Linked DNA regions of Homo sapiens: region 1 is linked to region 2. Evidence: promoter capture Hi-C in human tissues and cell types (Jung and others, 2019). All regions are on one chromosome and are shown on one strand. The core of a region is centred on a gene start or on the middle of the fragment in contact, and the rest is flanking DNA. Distances in the headings are between cores, read along the strand shown.

Region 1 (5,709 bases), core at 1,308-3,807, 53 kb after region 2:
GTTTAGTAATTTAGATGGGGGTGCCATTTACTGAGAGAAGTAGAAGACTGTTTTCTATCCATTTTCGTGTCATAACACATATACTAATTGATAATATTTGTAAGATTTAGCTGGATAAACTAGAGGAGATTTGCAGATGTCTAAGGTGAAATTTTTCACTGTTTTTCTATATATGATACGATTATAAGAAAAATCAAATACAAAGTATTAGGAAGGATTTAAATCTCAAATATGTAACACAAGTAAATACGTCAAAAATATATTTCAAATAAAATCTCTTAAAAATGTGATGAGAAACTTGTTTGGGAATATTGCTTGGGAACAAGGGGGAACATTGCTTCAATGATCAAGACTTGAAAAAAAAATGGTTTTAAGCTTGAAATAGCTTATACAATTCTAACAAAGACTACTTAACAATAAGCTCTTAAAATTCCTGAAAAACACAATCAGTGAAAACTTGTATTCACACAGGAAACATAAGTTAAACTATTTTTATCATCATTCAAAAATTTTAATAATTGCAGTTAAATTTTAGAACTTTTAGTGCTAAAATCTTTGGTATTTTAAATGAATTTCAAATCCAATCAAATGTTTTCATTTACTGTATTTATGTGTTCATTCAACAAATATTTATTGAAGATTACTATGTTCAGGTACTGTTCTAGCCACATAAATACGAAGCACTTCAAAATAATGAAACTCTAATTTGCAGAGTCTGCTTGCCTAACACACCAGCTCATTTGTTACAATATGTCATCTGACATATGGGAAAGGAGAGGGTAGAAACCACCACCTGGAGATGCACCTGTGTGGTCTCTAGCTCCCGCCTCCTTGGTCTGTAGCTCTCTACAGAGGTCTCCCGCCCTCTAGCTCTGGGCTCTTTGGGCACCTGAAATTCCTCTAGTATCTCCGTGGGTGCCCTGCAGCTGACTGTGAAAGGAGAAATCCAGGCCATGCTCAACTCACTGGGTGCTTGAGTAGATCCCATAAAGCCAGAGGTTGCTATCCCAGGGCCTCTAGTGGCCACCCTCACAGCCTAACATGATGCTACCGGTGGGTGCCACAGCACATTGGGTAAGGTACTCTGACCCAACCAGTTCTAGTCAATGAGCAGAACTGTTATGAACTGACTTGTGTCCTCCCAAAATTCATATGTTGAAGCCATAACTTCCAATGTGACTATATTTGGAGAAAGGGTCTTTAAGGAGGTAACTAAAGTTAAATGAAGTCATAGGGCTGGGGCCCTAATTCAATGTGACTGGTGTTCTTCTAAGAAAAGGGAGAGACACCAGGGATGCAAGCCCAAAGAGCAAAGGCCAAGTGAGGACACAGCAAGAAGGCGGCCCTCTGCAAGCCAAGGAGAGAGGCCTCAGGGGAAACCAAACTTGCCAGCACTCATCTCTCGGACTTCCAGCCCCTAGAACTATGAGAAAATAAATTTCTGTTGTTTAACCCACTGAGTCTAAGGTATTTTATTATGGCACCCCCCAGCAGACTAATACAAGAATGGAGCCAAATGCAGTGGTTTTCAATCTTGGCTCCCTATTAGGATCACTGAGGAGCTTTAGGCAAATGCCTGGGTTCTACCCTCAGAAATTCTGATTTGATTGGCCAGCTGTGTAACCTGCCTATCAGGACACTTAAAAAGTTCCACAGGTGAGCCTAATGTGCAGGCAAGGTAAGAATCACTGGGGCAATAGATAGAAATTTTAAGGAGACAGATTTAATTCTTTCTGAAAATAATCCAAACCTTTGTCTTGGGTCAACTAATTAGCACCTGGTATTAATCCAAAGCATCAGGATTAAAACCAAGGCTCAGTTCTGAGCCCAACACGGTTCTGTTGGCCTTAATTTGGTGTTCCTCAATTCTGACAGCCCAGTGAATACCACCTTTTCAAAAGGGTGTTTTTGTCGAGCGGCCAGAATGCAAAAGGTCCTAAGGAAGTGTCCAGGCGCTTTCTGCGTGAGCTGCGTGCAGGGGCGGGCTCCGGCCCCTTCTAAAGCTGCCCCCGCAGTCCCTTCCTGACGTCCAGAAAACCCTTAATGTGCCCCTTTTGCCCGTGATTCTGTCTCTTGTTTGACCTTCGTTAGCCTTTTTACCATTTCTGGTCCCGGTGCAGTGACTCACGCCTGTAATCCCAGCACTTTGGGAGTCCGAGGAGGGCGTATCATCTGAGGTCAGGAGTTTGAGACCAGCCTGGCCAATATGGTGAAACCCTGTCTCTACTAGAAATACAAAAATTAGCCAGGCGTGGTGGCTTGCGCCTGTAGTCCCAGCTACTCGGGAGGCTGAGGTAGAAAAATCGCTTGAACCCGGGAGGCAGAGGTTGCAATGAGCTGAGATCGTGCCACTGCACCCTAGCCTGGGTAACAGAGCAAGACTGTGTTTCAAAAAAAAAAAAAAAAAAAAATTGTGAGACTTTCATCCTGAAAAGTATTTAAGCAGAGATTGGAAATAGTGTAGGGGTTTTGGGGGAGAGTTTGGACCAGATGACCAGGATGCCATTCCTACCGGCAGATGAACATCCATGTCATCACCCTCAACATGCATTCTCACTTCCACCTGACCCCACACTTGAGCACCCTGGATTGATATCTTACTGTGTCATTTCTGATCCCCACCACTTATTTTCTCAGTTGCCTTATTTGGGTGTGTTTCTCTGTGGACTTCCAGGTCCTTACCATTAAAAGAAGAGGCTAAACTTGATGTGTTCTAAGGTCTTTTCCAGATATCAGATTTCTTAATTTTAACCAAATAAAAATATAGCTTCCTGACTGTAATAGGAGATGAGAATTAAGCTGGCCACTTCAAGCCATATCAAGTTCCTCTCTAAGAGAAAGACAGATTTAGCCAATGAGCTATGCTTATTTCTACACAAATTGAATTAGTGGAAACTGAAAGCATCACCTGCTGGAGCTGGCCATGACAGATAAAGGCTTTCTTAGAATGACTGCCTGGGAAAGCATACATGTATCATGAGTACACCTGCCAGCCTCGTTTGTAGTTTTTTTGCTGCTAGATGCTTACCATCCTATAAGTCAGCACAGAAGAGAAAAGCAGTATTGGGCATGAGGATTATCTCTATATACCCTCTAATCAGTGCTAAAAACTGTGGACTCTTAGGGAAGGGGAGACATCAGAGGCCTTTCTGCTGTTAACCCTTAGGGCCTTGCCTGGAATGTGCCTTCCAGTATATTTTGTTCCTGATGGCCATGGATTTGGGGTCTCAGCCTGCTCTTGGGACTTAGGGTCCTGCCCCTAGCCCTTCCCTTTGAGATTCTCCCTTTCCTAAGTACAATTGCAGTCAGGTGCATCTCACTCTTTTGCACATTTTATGCCACATCTGAAACTAGACATAATACTTTGGCATTGAACAGTTTTATCACTGCTAATGTGCAGAAACGGGGAAAGTAACAAAAGTGGTCAACTTGAACATAGTGCAGTGATTTTAAGTCTTACAGGATTTTGGAATCAAAGCCTATGAACTAGTGTTCTTGCTTCTTTCTGAGATGAAAACTAAAAACTCAGCTGCACTTTCATCCTCTGCATTTATCATCATCAGAATGGACATCACCAACTGTCCCTTCTCCCTGCAGACCTCTCAGATACCATCAGTCAGGATACTCCAGAGAAACAGACCAATTAGATAAATAGATTAGATTAGACAATTGCTATAAATATAGATGTAGATAGATACACATGTATACATATACATATGTATTTATATATATATACATACACATATATGTGTGTTAAGATATTTATTTTTAAAAATTGGCTCATGAGATTGTGGAAGCTGCAAGTTTGAAATCTATAGGGCAGACTGCCAGGCTGGAAACTAAGGTAGGAGTTGTTGTTATTGAATTCTTGAATTCTCAAGAATTCAGTCTTGAGACTGAATTTCTTCTTTGGGAAACTGCAGTTTTTGCTTTTAAGGCTTTCAACTGATTAGATGAGGGTCATCCATATTATTGAGGGCAATCTCTTTTATTTAAAGTGAACTGATTATATATCATAATCACATCTACAGAACATACAGCAATATCTAGCTTGGAGTTTGATTAAATAAGTGGTTGCTATAGCCTAGCTAAGTTGACACATAAAGCTAGCTATCACAGACACTAAGTGGCTAGCAACTTCTGGGTCCAACGTTTGCTTTGTGCTTGGTAATCTCTTGGGCTTTGGGAAAAAAACATATCTGGCCTTGGTTTCTTTTTCTTCAATGATCTGGCCTGTCTGTGGACATTGCCCCATTGAAAAACTGGTTTTGGAGGTCAAAGCCAAAGAGGCTTGGTACCGTAGAATGATATCGATGAAAAGGACTTGAAAAATGACCTATTCAAGCCCCTCAACTTACAAATAAGGAGATGGAAGCCTAACAAGGAGAGGCTATTTAAAGCCATTTATAATGACAATAGTCAAGAGACTGTGACCTGTGATCACACAAGGTCACTAGAGCCTTGAAATGCCTCGTAACAATAATTGCCATGTTTTCCTAAACATAGCACTCGGGGACCATGTGCTGGCCTGGGCGTGGGCGCCATCAGGCATATCATCAGCAGTGTTCACCAGTTGCCTACAAAAGAGGCTTCTGGAGATTAGGCCTTAGCTAGATTACAACCCGTTGGCATCTAGTGAATGTCATGTACTCCGAAAGCAGAAACACACTGGATGATGTTAAAATAAAACCATATAAGAGAAAAGGTGGAACTCTTCTGAGGAAAGAGGGAGGAAAATAGGTGACTGATCAGGGAGATCATGCCAGAGCTTTAGAGCCTCCCTGCATTGTTCACAACTGGATTGGCCACCTCTTTGGCAGCCATTACGTGGGAACACCTGAATAGGTGGATGAATATGTGTGTGCATGCACTACAGCACCTGAGCTACTCCGTAAGATGTGAGCATGTGTGTAACACCTGAATGCCTGTGTTGTTACATCCCTATGTGTGAGCTGTCAATGAACGCGTGCAACACTGGAGTGGGAGGTAAAACGCTGGACTGAGGGTGTTTAACATTGGAATTTCTGTGGTACTATCAGGGTATGTGTAACAATTGCCTCCCCATCACACTCAGCAAATGGCCCCATTTTGGAAAGAAATAGGAGTTATCAGATGAGAACTCTCCCAACTTCCTGCTCTGCTGCCTCCACTCCCACCAGCTTCTGTACTCATCCTCTGCCTCTTCTCTATAATAGGGGAATATTTCACTTTCTGTCTAAAACCAAAACCTCTACCTGTGCTCCAATTCCACTGGATTCTCGCTCTTCAGGAAATGTCCCTATTGTTTCTCCTTTTCCGTCTCTTGGGTTTCCAATCTCTATCTCCTGGATCTTTCTCTTTATTGTTTAAATGTGCTCAATTCTGTGCCATGTTAAACAACAACAACAACAGAAAACCCTACCTACTGCAATTACTGTCTCCCCTTCCTCCCTCTTCACAGCCAAACTTCTCAGAAGCTCTCTTCATCCTCACTGTTCCATTTTCCCACCTGCCACTCACCTCTCAACCACTCCAGGCTAGCATGTAGCCTCATCATTCTATCAAAAGAGTACTTGATAAAGCCGCTGGTGACCTCTAAATGCTCATTGTGCTGGCCTGGGCGTGGGCACCATCAGGCGTATCATCAGCAGTGTTCACCAGTTGCCTACAAAAGAGGCTTTTGTATGAAAATGCTCATTGGAAAACAATATGAAATATGAAAATGCTCAT
Region 2 (5,733 bases), core at 449-2,948:
GAGGGACTAGGGCCGGTCTGTGTGTGGCTGCCCGGAGGAGCTGACCAATTGGTCATGGTGCTGAAACCTTTGTGGGGAATCGTGGCCAAGTGCACTGACTCTGTGGGAAAACGGCGGCGTGAAGGGATGCCAACAGCTCCTCGCCGGGAAGGGAACCGCCTCAAATTGGGACCATGACAATTCCTGCTAATTTGTAGAGCAGGGAATTGGTGCAAAGTGTCAAGCAGTCACTGCTTGTGCTCAATAGGGCATCAAATTGGCGCGACGGATTCATGAATGTTATACGCCTCGCAACCTCTGAACCAGAGCATAACCCCGAGGGGTGGACGGAGAAATACGGCTTCGGAGCAGGGAGCGATGGGCCGGGGCTGGGGCGCCGCCCTGCCTCGCGCAAAGAAGGGGGACGAGACCTACCTGGGAAATAAGAAGATCTGATGAAAGGCTGAAAAGACCCTTCGAAGTAGGGAAAGGCGAAGGTCTTGGGAGGGACGCTCTGGAGCAAGGCTGGGGATGTTTCTGGTGGGCGATGGAGGGGGGACAGAAGGAGAGAGGGAGACAGAAAGAATCTGATTACGTACTTGCCTATTGTATAGCACACTGAACACACGATATAATTAGCCCTTCATCTGGTTTCAAAGACATCTTTCTTATACGTTGACAGGGTAAAATAAATCTTCCCAACATTGTCTTATCTGTAAAACTCTTTTCTTTCTCCCCAACGTAATTCTCTGCGCCGTCCCACTCTACCCCAATCTCCATCCTAGGCACTAACGAGATAGGACTGAGTGGGGAGGAAAGAAATTGCAGATTTATAATATTTGCTAATCCAATAAATATATCATATTGAGTTTAAAAAAAAAAACTGTCTCCTAGAAGCTCGAAGGCAGAAACGCAGACGTCCAGGAGCGTGCGCTCAGCGTTACTGCACCAGATGACTGCGCACAGTCTCCGACTGCGTGTGCTCAAGTTCACTCCGAGGATGGGGCGAGCCTGGAGGCTTTTCTTCCCCGGAATTGACTGGACTATTCTCACATTGCCTGACGTAGGGTCTCAGAGTTCGTGCGTATTGTGTGTGCACCGATGTGTGTGTGGGGGCCCGCTCGCTAGAGGAAACTGAGGCCAGGATGACTCCGCGCATGCCTAGTACCTGAATGGGCCCTTAGGGTTCTGACCTCGCTTACCTGTTCTGGGCCCCGAGGAGAGGATGGCGTTCACTCCAAACTTCAGAAACGTCGTCTCGCTGGCAGGGGAGAAGGCAGTCGGCGGAGAGCCGCCCCGTCGGCTGCCGGGACCCGGGGAGCCCAGGTCCGAGGCCCCCGTGTCGGTGAGGGCCGTGGGGGCCCCCTGCCTGGGCGGCGACATGCTGGCGGTGGGCACGCTGCGGGGCAGGTAGGCGGGGGGTCGGCTGATGCGGATCAGATCCTCCACCAGGAAGCTGGAGTGGCCGGAAAATGCCGACTGCAAGGACTGGGGCAGCGTCAAGGTGGGCGTGGGCCGCAGGAGGCTAGGGTACCCGGCGGGGGGCGCGAGGAGGCCGGGGAACATCATGGTAGGCGCGGGCGGGCGAAATAACCCTTCTTTCAGTGGCCGGAGGGTAAACGCCTCGCTTCCCGCCCCTCCCGCCCCCACAGTGTCCTCTCTCTTGGGCTTAGCAAACGTCTCCAAGTAACAATCCCACTTGGGCGTCTGCGAGTCCTCCGTGGTCCTCTCGTCGAGGTGATGGTTTTATAGTGGCCCGCCCGCTAAAGCACTTTGAAAAGTGACAGCTCTGACAATGAAGTTCAACAAAGTTCTCCACTCGAGCTTCATTCGCCGGAGGCTCTGGACTCTCTGATTGGCGCAGGGGTGCAATTTATGATTGGATTAGTCTTCATAAGCATGGCCCGCACAATGGGCCGGCAACAAAGGCCCGCGCGCATCAATTTTGCATATCGACCGCCTCTTTGCAATACAGTGCGCCCCCAAAGCTCTCGCCAAAGGTTTTTGTTCCGAAGCAACACCCGGGCTAATTAAATGCCTATTTAGAAGTTTCAGATGACATCTTGCCTCATAGAAAAGGAATTATTTAAAGAACCCACTAAATTTATTTGCAGCTCCCCTGCTAAGCCTGGAAAATAAATCAATAAATATTCATAGAAATACATCTTCAGGCTATCAGCAAAGTTGCCCTCCCTCTTGTGGGGGTAGGGCAATGAAAAGTTTCAAGTCAGTGGACATGAAAATATACTCCCTTTCCGGTCTCTAGCCCTATCCGTTACTCCAGCTGAAGCATAAAGCAAATGTAGGGGTGAGTGAAATCAGTGTTAGAAGTCCCATTCTGACGACTCAGGGAAACTTGGAAACGGATGCTTTGGGGCCACTGGATGTGTGTCCGTAAGAGTGGGGAGAGGTCTGGAGTTATTTCATTTCGGGAGACTGGTTGAGTTTGAGCGTTGGTGGATACCTGAAAAGTAAAACGAGTCTCCTTCAAATTCCCAGCAACTTGGAAAACGATTTTCTCTAGGAGTTTCTGCAAGGGGCTGTCCGCACCTCACCTTGCGGGAGGAGCGGAGGAGAGCGGCGCTGGGCTGCCGAGCGGCAGGATTCCGCTTGCAAAGAGCTTAGGCTGACCGGAAACTGCCTCGGGCAAGGGTATCCAAAGGCTGTGAGTGCTATGCTGGCCGTTCTCCAAACACAGGGAGCTCTCGGCAGTTTAAGTTGAAACTCACAGCCCTGACATTTTAAGCCATAGCAGCGAAGGTCCAGACGTCGTCTGGAGAGAACCCTACCACTTGCGGGGCCCTTAACTTGGCCCAAGGTTTGGCAGCTTCTTAATTAACTACAACGCACAAACGCGTGAAAACCAGAGGGAAGGGATGCGGTTCCCAAGAATGTTGGTCCACTCCGGGAAAGCCTCCCCTGAATGTGGGGCTTCAAAGGAGAATCTTCCTGGAGACAGTCCCTTCGCTTTCCTCTGGTTGGGGCTGAGGTGGTACTAAGACTCGATTCCCCCCATTTCTCTGTTCGGCGAGATAACAGATGTGTTAAATGTCCCATTCATCTCTTTAGTGTGGCTGAACCTCCCCAAAGAGAAGTGTGCAGCCCCGCCAGGCCGCCCTGATCCTATTAACCATGAACTAACTGTCACCTTCAGCTGGTTTTCCTTTTTGCTTTTTAACACAAAGCTTTCTCAAAAATCTTATTAACCAGCTTTATTTCTCTCGATGGTTTTGTTCGGGGTGTTTTGTGTTGATGATCTCCATGTCGCTGCTTTAACCATTCAATAAAAGTGCATCTGCGATTTATATCACATTAAACCAGAAACGGAGCCGGCTAAAACTCTCCCTTGATTCAAATTAAAAAGTTATTTAGGGCCCAGCTCCAGAGGCGAATTAATGCTAGAAGATGACGTAAGTGCGGAGTTTCTGAGCCCAAGACCGCTCATGCTCATGGGCAGCGGGAGAAAACCAATCAGGAAAGAAACAACTTTTAAATAAGGGGCTATTTAAATATGGGAAGCGCCTTGCTGGAGTTAATTGGAGTCCCCTGGAAACGGAAGAAGGAGATCTGTCGAAGAACGTCAAAAGTTCCTTTTTGAAGTTTGCAATAAAATAGGTGAGAAAAGCATAAGCTATCTGAACACCTGCACTTTAACCTTGCCATGAGACAGTTTCCCATTGCAATAAGACTGGCTCTCTCCCTTCCTCTCCCTTACTTTTTTCCTCAGGCCCACCTCCCTCCTTCTCCCACTCCCTTTCCCTCTGCCCCCCACCCCTTTTTCTCCCCGAGTCTTAAGGACTTGGGCAATTGCCAGTTCCCAGAAGGACGCGCCGGGGGCTTCAGGATGTTTGATTCCCTACCGGTGAAGCGCTTGTCCAAGTCTTCCGGATGATCAGAATAGAGTCTATATTTGCCAAAATCAACTTGGATTTTGTTTTTTTTTGGAGGGGGGAACGGTAAGAACTTGAAGCCAGCGTGAGCCCTTCCCAGCTCCTCCTTCCCTGTTGGGGCATTTGCCGGGGTGTAGTTTTCACCGTTTCCTGTCCGTCGACAGGCTTCATGCCACCCCTAGCCCCCACCCCAAGCCCCAGCCATTCTGCCTCACTATAGACTAACTGCTACTAACTTCTCGGCTTTTAAAAGTCTACCCTGCCATTTTTTGGAGGGTGGATCAACCCCTTGCTGCGATCCACGTGGACCCTGCTTCCTGGGGTCGGTCTCCACAGCCTCCTAAAGAATTCCTAAAGCGCCAAAGAGGAAAAGTGAGGGCGGGGGCGAGGGGGCGAGGGCTGGCCGCCCGTGAAAGGAAAAATAAATCCTAAGGAAGCAAGAAATCGGACGAAAGGATCTTACTTTAAGTGATCTCCTTGAACGCGTCTTTTCAAACTCCGCGATAGCCCAAGGAGCTGCGCGGCGCGGCGGCTGCGGCTAAGACCTGTGACTAATGCCATTTGACCTGAGCCCATGGGGTTTTGTGCGTCCTGCCATTCACTGTTATGTCGTTATCTTCAAGTTTATTTCGGAGAAATCACTCGCGTTCTTTGTCTCAAGGCTGAGCTTTCTGTCTATTTCTCTTTCAAGAGAAAAGAAGACGGGAGGGGAAAAGAGAGAATCGGAGTCCCTGGTTTGGGGTTTAAGGTCCTTGCCTACGCTGCGGGGGAGGCCGCAGCAGATCCGGCTGGGGCTCCCCGGGCCTAGGTGGCCAAAGCTGCCGAAACCTGCCTTGGATAGTAGAAAGAGCGTGTCGGAACGCACTCTGGGGGTTTCGTTCCCCCCGCGCAGGGGAGAGCGAGCATGTTCCTGCCCCGGGCGCCGTGCGGTCGCAGCAGCAGCGCGGCCCTCTCCAGTGCGAGCCGTGCCTGGAATGTCTCGGGTAAGCGAAGGGCCAGCAAGCGAGGCGAAACGGACACTATAAAGCAGAGAGTGGTGTGAGCTTCCCCGCCCTCTGAAAAGATGGCAAGTCTCCGTTTCGGGAAGGCTGCAACGCTAAGGTCACCCTTTGCAGGCTTCGGACCCCCAGTCCTCCATGCTCCCTGCCGGAGCAGCCAACAGAGTGAGAGCGCATTTTGGAAAGATTGGCCGGATGCCGGGCGGCGACAGGGAAAAGCGCCCGACGCCTGGCTTTGGGGTGGGGGGTGTGGGGAGGGGGGGCAGGGAGCTAACGGGCGAGGCGAAGGAGGAGGGCTGCGAGGCTCGGACTGAAAGAGCTTTCCTACCGCCCCAGCCCCTCTTCGCAAGCCTCTCTTTTAAGACAGCTCTAAGGGGTTCACCTTCAGAATAGGCCACTAGGAGCTACCGCTGCCCCAGCTCTTTCTAGTGTCTCCCCCCTCACCCCCCATCCCTTTCACACTCACTCCCCTCTTTTTCCTTGAAAATCCTTCTATTGTGCCAATCAAGCAGATGGTTTGCAGGAAATATAGCTTGGCCTCGCTGACCGAAACAAATTTTAACTAGCTTTCCAAGCCCGAAACGTTTGTTTTGCTCTTACAAAATAGCCCCCAAAACAGCTGGCAAGGGTGAATTAAACCCATTAAAGACACATTTATAAGAAATTATATTCACATAGATTGCCCGAACCCCCTTGTGCTGCCTAAGAGAGGAGATGAGCGCATTTAAATGAAAATGTCACCGGACGCTCCCCTCCTTAACGTAGCCTGAAAGTCTCAAAACATTTTACTAAATAGATTAACTTGACTATTGTCTTGCATCACATTTATCAGCTTCATTAAGTGAATAGCTGAACAAATATATTAC

What was found. The method cuts DNA at HindIII sites, captures the fragments that hold promoters and counts their contacts. A contact is called where the count stands out against the background at its distance.
Region 1: a contact is called between a fragment that was not itself captured here and the fragment with the promoter of DBX1 in region 2, in 2 of the 25 tissues and cell types used here (liver and mesendoderm cells).

The regions. Positions count from the first base shown.
Region 1 is chr11:20,211,083-20,216,791 of GRCh38, forward strand. No RefSeq gene overlaps it. Among named protein-coding and RNA genes, the nearest start is that of DBX1, 53 kb to the left of the region's middle. RefSeq lists a silencer at 2,289-2,519. The HindIII fragment of the contact is 7,499 bases long and covers 1-5,709 here.
Region 2 is chr11:20,158,777-20,164,509 of GRCh38, forward strand. DBX1 (developing brain homeobox 1) reads right to left here and starts at 1,699. Exons shown (of 4, transcript NM_001029865.4): 1 at 1,182-1,699; 2 at 415-516. The coding sequence starts at 1,548. RefSeq lists enhancers at 2,079-2,580, 2,581-3,080, 4,205-4,706. The HindIII fragment of the contact is 9,910 bases long and covers 1-5,733 here.